2 separate regions of the Homo sapiens genome follow, and region 2 is linked to region 1. Evidence: promoter capture Hi-C in 16 types of primary human blood cells and fetal thymus (Javierre and others, 2016). All regions are on one chromosome and are shown on one strand. The core of a region is centred on a gene start or on the middle of the fragment in contact, and the rest is flanking DNA. Distances in the headings are between cores, read along the strand shown. Region 1 holds the start of METTL13 (methyltransferase 13, eEF1A N-terminus and K55). Region 2 overlaps RABGAP1L (RAB GTPase activating protein 1 like).

What was found. The method cuts DNA at HindIII sites, captures the fragments that hold promoters and counts their contacts. A CHiCAGO score of 5 or more calls a contact.
Region 2: a fragment that was not itself captured here is called in contact with the fragment with the promoter of METTL13 in region 1 in 2 of 17 cell types (total CD4 T cells and non-activated CD4 T cells); the score reaches 7.6 in total CD4 T cells.

Annotation. Positions count from the first base shown.
Region 1 is chr1:171,778,244-171,782,920 of GRCh38, forward strand. METTL13 (methyltransferase 13, eEF1A N-terminus and K55) reads left to right here and starts at 3,417. Exons shown (of 8, transcript NM_015935.5): 1 at 3,417-3,877. The coding sequence starts at 3,725. RefSeq lists enhancers at 3,106-3,400, 3,230-3,763. The HindIII fragment of the contact is 1,150 bases long and covers 2,655-3,804 here.
Region 2 is chr1:174,987,960-174,992,104 of GRCh38, forward strand. RABGAP1L (RAB GTPase activating protein 1 like) reads left to right here. Exons shown (of 26, transcript NM_001366446.1): 25 at 682-879; 26 at 1,890-4,145. The coding sequence ends at 2,042. Among named protein-coding and RNA genes, the nearest start is that of CACYBP, 9.9 kb to the right of the region's middle. The HindIII fragment of the contact is 8,943 bases long and covers 1-4,145 here.

The sequences.
Region 1 (4,677 bases), core at 2,167-4,666:
TGCAGTGAGCCAAGATCGTGCCACTGCACTCCAGACTGGGCAACAGAGTAAGACTCCGTCTCAAAAAAAAAAAAAAAAAAAAAGAAAGAAAATGAAAAAGGACCCTGTGATTACATTGAGCTCAGTTAGATAATCTTGCTATGTCAGCTGATTAGCATCCTTAATTGCATCTACAACCTTAATTCTTCTTTGCCTTGTAACCTGTTACCTTCACAGTTTCGGTTCAGGGGATTAGGAGGTAGACATCTTTAGGGGAGCATTATTTTGCCTCTCTCATCCTCTGCCTCCCAAATTGTCAGAGATGCTTTTTATTCCCTCTTTATTATTTTACAATTAATCGTAGTAACAATCAATTGAATATTACCACAATTATGAGAATGTTTCAATTAAGTAAGTTTGACTGTAAATTATATATCCAGAGGTCTGGATTTATATTTTTAGGAAAAAACTCCACAATACTGAATGGCTTTATCTAAATTTAGCTTGCATTTTAAATCATATTTTTAACCACTCTGGGGATCCTAATAAAACACAAAGCATTTTAACATCTTATTGGTTTAAATTAACTAAGTATACTAATGATAACACATACCTATCAATTATATTTCATAGTTAAATCTTGAGAGAAATAAGCTTCAAATAAGTATTTTGAAAGGTTAATGCTAGGGTCTAATGTTACAATATATCTAAAATATTTCTGTGTTAATCTTACAATTTTAGAAAATCTCTAGTATGTTTAAGCTTAAAATGTTCTGGTTGTTATCACTTTTTTAGGCTCACAGAAGGGAGGCAGGCACAGATGGAAAAACGTAAGTTACTTACCCTTTTGGTCTGAAAAACACTGCAAACAGTAATCATACTTTTAGAGCATCAAATACGGGGCTGGAGCCTGGGCTGTGATAGAAATAACTTCGTCTTTTCTAATAACATGACCTTAACAGAACAGACAATGGAGACAGAGGGAAAAGCAGCAGCCAGAAATTCTTGTAAAGGTTCCAGAAGGTGAACCATGCTTTTTGGTTTTTCACCTATGTCATGCTGATATTAAGCAGTCAGATTATATAGTATTTTTGTCCCTTCCTCAGGGAAGCCTTCTCTGGTTACCCCTTAGATCAGTAGAGGTCACAAAGATATACTATCATGGAATGGTATGGTTCTCCTTCACAGCACTTATAACTCCCATTACAGACTATTTTTGTAATTGTTTAATGTGCCCTCCACGTGATTACCATGCTTACCACTGCATCCTTAGCTTCTACCACAGTGATTGGCCCCTATTAGACAATTAAAATATTTGTTGAACTGAATTGAATAAAGCTTTGGGGGGCACAGAGCAGCTGCTATGGTTTTTGTTTGTTTTTGTTGTTGTCGTTTTTGAGAGGGAGTCTCCTTCTGTTGGCCAGGATGGAGTGCGGTGGCGCAATCTCTTGGCTCACTGCAACCTCCGCCTCCCGGGTTCAAGCGATTCTCCTGCCTCAGCCTCCTGAGTAGCTGGGACCACAGGCACACACAACCACGCTCGGCTAATTTTTGTATTTTTATTAGAGACATGGTTTCACCATGTTGGCCAGGCTGATCTCAAACTCCTGATCTCAAGTGATCCGCCCGCCTCGGCCTACCAAAGTGGTAGGATTACAGGCGTGAGCCACCGCGCCTGGCTGCTATGCTGTTTTGCTTCTTTGGTATCGTGTAGCACATTCAGTACAAGTGATGTCCTCCGCTCTCAATAAGTGCTTCCTAAAGAACTCACATTTCACCCATTCAGAACCTTGCATGGTGTAGTAGCTGAAGTTACTACTTCAAGGACTCCTTCTCTTTATCTTGGGTAGAGAGGAACAATGTGAACTCAGCAAAGGGATCATGAAAACAGATTTTCTCTTATGTTACTTGTAGAAAGCTTTTAGATTTATCATTGAAAATTGCGAATTTTGAACCATATCCATTTTGACTTAATTGTATTTTAAAACAGTGGTTCTCAAAAAAGTGTGGTTCCGGGACCAACATCATCAGCATCGTGGGAACTTGTTAGAAACACAAATCCTTGGGCCTCACCACTGAACTAATGACTTAGAACAGGGGTTGGACTGGGGAATTCTGTGTTTTAACAAGTCCTCCAGGTGATTCTGACGCATGCCAGTTTGAGAATCACTTTTTTAAACCAATGTTTAAGTCCAATCTAACCTACTTAACTATTAACAGTCTACCTGGCTATCTACCTGTGGTAGTGTAGTATGTAACAGCCCACAGCACACATGCTCAATTCCAAGCCTATCTGCTCTCCGCAATCAGTATATTCCTCCTGCAATTTATCATGGTATGAAAGGCCCAGTGATACACATATTTGGTCATTTTCAAATAGTGCCTGCCAGCATAGTGGCTCACACCAGTCATCCCAGCACTTTGGTAGGGTGAGGCGAGATGATCATTTGAGCTCAGGAGTTTGAGAACAGCCCGGACAACATGGCGAAACCCCATTTCTACAAAAAAAAAAAAAAAATTAGCCAGCGGTAGTGGCGTGCTACTTGGGAGGCTGAGGTGGGAGGATCCCCTGACCCCTGGAAAGTGGAGACTGCAGTGAGCCATGACTGCACCACTGCACTCCAGTCTGGGCGACAGAGACAGACCCTGTCTGAAAAAAAAGTGCCCTTCACAGAAGCTTCCTCAGGGTATTAGCATGAGCATGTGAAAGTACAGTATGTTTATCAAACACATAAAATAAGCAGTTATAAATAACGTCAGAATAACACAAGGAGGCCAATTATCAAAATGAAAGGCTAGTTTTGCATGCTGTGCTTTGCGGAGAGAAGGAAGAGGGAGTTTTCATGTTATTACACTTTTGATAGCAGAATCCTATATTTTGGTGCAGAGGTGGCAAAATAAGGCGGGGGGTGCTGGTGCGCAGAAGCTGACAAGGTTAGAATGTGCAGCGTTTTTACGACGGACTGGCTTTACTCATTTCCTGCCTCACTTCTCTCCTATCTGTATAGGTTTTTCTTTTCGTCCTCCTCTACCAGTACGCTCCCGCCTGCCGCGCTCCGCCCTTGTGCGGCGCACGATCGGAGTCAGTGATTAAGCCGGCTCCAAGACAAAGCGGAGGCCGAGCCCAGGAAGCAAGCGCGCTCTCCGCCCCGCCTGGAGGGAGGGCCCAACCACAGCACAGCCGCGCTCACTCCTCACCCGGACGTGACCTAGTTCTCACAGAGGCCCGGCCTCTTCCGCCACAACTCCGGCCCGCGGTCCCGCCCCGTTCCGTGAATGGTCGGCCGGCCTCAGGTCAAAAAAGCGTTTAGGTGTCTGCGACGGAGCCTCCGGAGAAAGGCAAGCACGTCGCAGCCAATGAGGTGATAGAAACGCAAAGCAGCGACCAATGACTAGCTGAGTTGGGCTGGGCCGGCCGACGAATCACGAGGCTTCGCACCCGGATATGGTTATGGGCTCGGAAATCTAGTTCGGGAAAAGTGTGAGGGGCTCTTCACGTGGGGAAGGAACAGCAGGCGCGGAGGAGGGGGCAAGCGTGTGTGAGATTCAGTGGTCCATGCGTGCGTTTGTCGTGTAAGGGTCATTCCTGGGGTTTGGAGTGGGGGAACAAATCAATGTGGCTGTTTTTCCGTGGAAAGAATTCCCACTGCAGTGTCCCGGAGCCTGCGTGTGGTGGGCAAGCTCCTCAAATGGTATCTCACAGGGAATAGGGGAGTCTTGAAAACGCAGCTTCGGCAGTAGGAACATGAACCTCTTACCTAAAAGTTCCAGGGAGTTTGGCTCCGTTGACTATTGGGAGAAGTTCTTCCAGCAGCGAGGAAAGAAAGCTTTCGAGTGGTATGGAACCTACCTGGAACTGTGCGGGGTGCTACATAAATATATCAAGCCCAGGGAAAAGGTGAGGAGCGCGGGTTGGTAGCCCTTCGTACGTGCTCCGGAAGGTGGGAACTGGTAACAGGAATCTTGCACTTGGTGGACAGTGACAGGCGGGAGGACCCTAGTTGGACGCATATTTCAGCATTTCCTGCATTGTTCCTGCTAAAAGACAAACTAGAATATTCTTTCAGGCCGGGCGCAGTGGCTCACACCTGTAATCCGAACACTTTGGGAGACCGAGGTGGGAGGATCGCTTGAGCCCTGGAGTTAAAGACCAGCCTGGGGAACATGAGACCTCGTCTCTACAAAAAATGAAAAAATTAGCCGGGCGTGGTGGCGCGCATCTGTATTTCCAGCTACTCGGGAGGCTTAGGCGGGAGGATCGCTTGAGCCCAGGAGGTCGAGGCTGCAGTGAGCCATGATCACGCCACTGCACTCCAGCCTGGGTGACAGAGTGAGACCCTGTCTAAAAAAAAAAACATTTCTTTAAAGGTTTTCAGATAATAGACCTCCCACCCCAGCTCATTCTTGGATTAATAACCCTACTTGAAGAGTGACTTCCCATCTTGAAAGTATGTTCTTCTGTCACTGTGCATTCCTGTGCAACCTGCAGCAGGTGTGACTTTGTGTATGAATTTGTTTTTCAAATAGTCGTTGAGTGCGCCCCAAGTTTCAGGCACTGCTCAGTCCTTAAACTATAAGAGCATTAAGACGTAAACCCTGCACATGTTCCAGAAGTGAAACGTGATAAGTACAACAATGGGTTTGGTATAGGTGAGATTGTACTGGAGGTAGGGAAGGAGGAAGGTAGAAAACTTAACA
Region 2 (4,145 bases), core at 679-3,178, 3.2 Mb after region 1:
CCACCATGCCTGGCTAATTTTTTGTATTTTTAGTAGAGACGAGGTTTCACCGTGTTAGCCAGGCTGGTCTCAATCTCCTGACCTTGTGATCTGCCTGCCTTGGACTCCCAAAGTGCTGGGATTACAGGCGTGAGCCACCAGGCCCGGCCGGAGTTACTTTTATTAAGCAACAGGGGTCCTCTTTGCTTAAAATTCAACAACAGGACATGTGCTTTGTTGCAAGGGTAGATTTAGGTTAGTCATGATGACCTTCCTCAGTCTACTACAGGCAAGTTCTTTAAACTCTGAGTTTCTTTATGAAATGAGGATGATGATAGTGCTTACTTATACAGTTGCTCTAGGATTAAGTGAAATACTACAAGTAAAGCATTTGGTGTGGGGCTTGGCATCTAGTAAGAATAATGATAGCATAAAATTTCTAGAACAGATTTCAAAGAGATGCTACAATACCTTCTATTTCTAGGGTATTTCTAGAGATACTTCAGGAAAAAGGAGCACCCGTCTTGGATAGTTGGGTTCGGGCTAATGATTTTGATTGCAGCACAAGAAAAATAATTAACCTTCAGAAATGGGCCTGCATCTATGACAATAAGCAGCATCTAAAAAAGTCATAAATTGTTTCAGAAGGTGATTTAGCCTATGGAATAGTTTGATGTTGGTTATCTCTTTTGGATACTTTAGGGTAAGATGATGGCATGCAAACACTGCAGTGACATTTTCAGCAAGGAGGGTGCTTTGAAACTAGCAGCCACAGGCAGAGAGGACCAGGGAATTGAAACAGATGATGAGAAGGACTCACTTAAGAAGCAGCTGAGAGAGATGGAACTGGAACTGGCACAAACCAAACTGCAGTTGGTGGAGGCCAAGTGTAAAATTCAGGTTGGTGATTTGATAAAAGAACAAGAAGAAAGAATAAACAATTAATGGTCCAGGATACTCTAGTACTTCAGAATACACCTATCTAGGTCAGAATTGTATGATGAATACATTTTCTGTCTGCTAATGTGTCCTGCATAATCACATTTTATATCATGTATTCTTAACGCTGATATAAACAAATATATAATTTTAAATGAAATTTTAATAATTAAAATTATATCTTATGGGAATTTAATTAAGCATATGCTTGTTTTTTTTACCCTGAGATTTTTTGCTTACATCCTTTCTCACAGAATGTGGTCACTTCAGTGGCTGATCCTGAAAATGAAAAACCAAACCCCCTCTGCTGTGTCTACCCTGAGAGTCACACATTGGCTGACACCCGTTCTTTCCTTTAGAGCTTCTTTTTATCTTTAGCTCATTTTGTCAAACCTCTTTCCCCATTATCTTTCTCCATATTGGCGCATAATATAATTAGAAATAGTCCTGGCTTCTGATGGACTCTTCTTCATTTCATTTTCCCAGTGATCCCTACCAGCACCATGGCTGCCATGTCACCAGCCTCCACCACACCAGCCAGCTTCCACCATGTGTCTGCTCTGACCTTGGACATTCTTAGGGCAAAGCCTATTTCTTTGGAACTGGAATTCATTCATGCTTCTACTATCAGTAAAAATTCATCCATATGTTTACATTTATTTGTGGTTTTTAAACCTGTTATATCGGATTGCAACCTAAACCTAAATTTGGACCTAACTTGCAGGGAAAAAAAGAATAAAATGAGCTTTTCTTTCACTGTTTAAAGAAAGCACAGATTCTAGATTTTTGATAAGTCTTTTAGCTCTTAACTTTATCCTTGTACTAAGAAGCCAATTCAATCTCTCCTGGGTTTTGTGGGAGGAAAATTGGCAGCACATACCTTGAGACTCCAAAAAGCTGCACACTTTTATTTATTTATTGGCAAAGAGAAAACATTTATTTAACTCAGATGATTTTCTTGCTTTAATTAGGAACTTGAACATCAGAGAGGAGCCCTTATGAATGAAATCCAAGCTGCGAAAAACTCTTGGTTTAGCAAAACCCTGAACTCTATCAAAACGGCCACGGGCACCCAGCCATTGCAGCCAGCACCGGTCACCCAGCCACCCAAGGAGAGCACATAGTTCCAGCCTTACCCAAGCACAAGAGCACAATGTTCAAACCAATGGAAATCTGGGAGGATTCTTCCTGGTGTCCCTTTGAAGGAAAGTCAAGGAGGCCAGAAAACAAGCCAGAATTTTTCAGTAGCTCTCACTCTTTCTTGTATGACACTTTTCAAAGGGATGCTATTTAAACTGACCTGTTCTATGTTGAATACCTATTTTCCAGCTTCTGGAAGGCCATGTTCAGATCCATCATAGTATTACACATTATTTTGTTTGCCTGATGTTTAGTTGGAAATAAGTAATTCAGAACTAAATGCTTTTTTATTTAGAATTATTCATAATTATTTTTATCTTACATAAAAATGGAGACATCTGTTATTCCAAGGTTGAAGTGATAAGAAGATCTTTGTCACAGGAAAAAAAAAATTGAAACCTAAACATCTTAAGTTTTCAGGATTTATTCAGATAAAGCACACTGTGGGGCCAGGCATGACCACTCTCAGGTTTCCTCCTGAGCCTGATTCCCAGGGAAGTGTTAATCCTGTCCAAAGGAAAGAACCAATCAGCGATCATTGGTTTACTTTCATTTTCTGTTCGGTACATCTGGAAATGAAGTGCCAGGAATAGACGGGCTGTTCAGATTATACGCTAGGTAAAAGGAACTGAAATTTTAATAAGTGTAGGTCAGGATCATTTGGGCTGTGGTATTCTAACAGATCCTTTTAAGAATGCCACATAGGACTTGTGAGTTCCTAAGTACACCAAAGTATGGACACAGATGTGACTTCTGGCAATTATAAAGTTAAAGGTGGATATTGCACCTTACAGACTTAGGGAGCCTTTACCAGAGACGCCTAAAAAGCCCCAGGTTCAGCCATTGTGCTGAATAGAGTGGAATATAGAACCAGGGACAGAGTATTTCATTTAACGTTGATATATACTTGCTAAGGAAACACTAACAATACTGTAACTTTGTTAAAGGACATAGTATTGAAATGGGAAATAGAGGTCAGGCTCACATCATCTTAGTTTAATGCTGGGCAACTTTTTCTGATTTCTGTAGTTCCCTGAAAATGTGTCCTTCGTACCCATAAAGAGATACAAATGCATTTGTAACATTTTTGATTGAATATAAAACCTTTACAGAAATACTTATCTCATGGAAAGGTAAAGCTATTGTTTAAAAATTAGTGGAAATATTTTTTCAATTATATTTAACATGCCTATAAAAATAGTCCTTGCAGGAAATTATTTGATAAGAGCAAAACTATTTTTATTTTATAAACTATTTTGGAGGCCTCTGATCCTTTCAAACCAACCAAACTACTATTAGATATGTACAATAACATTTGTTGATATTAATCATTGGCCTCATTGTTGAACATATTATTTGCAAAGAATCTTAAACTCTGTAGTGCCAGAATGATTCTCATCTGTGCCATATTTTGCAATTAAAAGTAACACACCCTTAGAAGAATCAAATAAGAGCCATCTACATCCCAGGAGGATGCACCAAGTTGCTCACAGTGGATCTTTTCCTCTAAAATGATCTTTTATGTTCTAAAAAGTGAAATCCCCTTTATCTGTGTTTATATTCTCTACAGCCCATAAAACTGATGTGATTGTTATGTTATACTCATCAGATAATACTTTTCTTACATAAATCTTTCATTGTTGTTCTGACATCTTTCATTACAAAATTTATTTTCTTAACAAAAAGGAACATAACCCAGCATTCCAAGTGTCTGTGTTGGCTTTAACATTCTCTACATGGTGGTCTAGATAAGCTAATTTTTTTTTTTTTTTTTTTGTAAAATGTAATAGCTAGAAAATGTTATCTTGGCGCTTGTTTTTGTAAATCATTTAGTATAGGCTGTTAGCTTTACTGGTACTTTACGCTTTGATTCCAAGAAGCCTTGTGCAGTTGCCTTATCAAATGGCCAGCTAAATTAAAGATGCTCTTTTGTGTTGTGAATTTCATAGTTCTGTACAGAGCTTGTTTCAATTTACAAAAATAAGTACATTCCACAGAATGCCTAAAGTGTGTAATTTTCTTTAAATAATAGTAGGTGAGGGAGAAACATAATGGCTCTAGGTCAATCCCTTATCTAAAGACCTTGT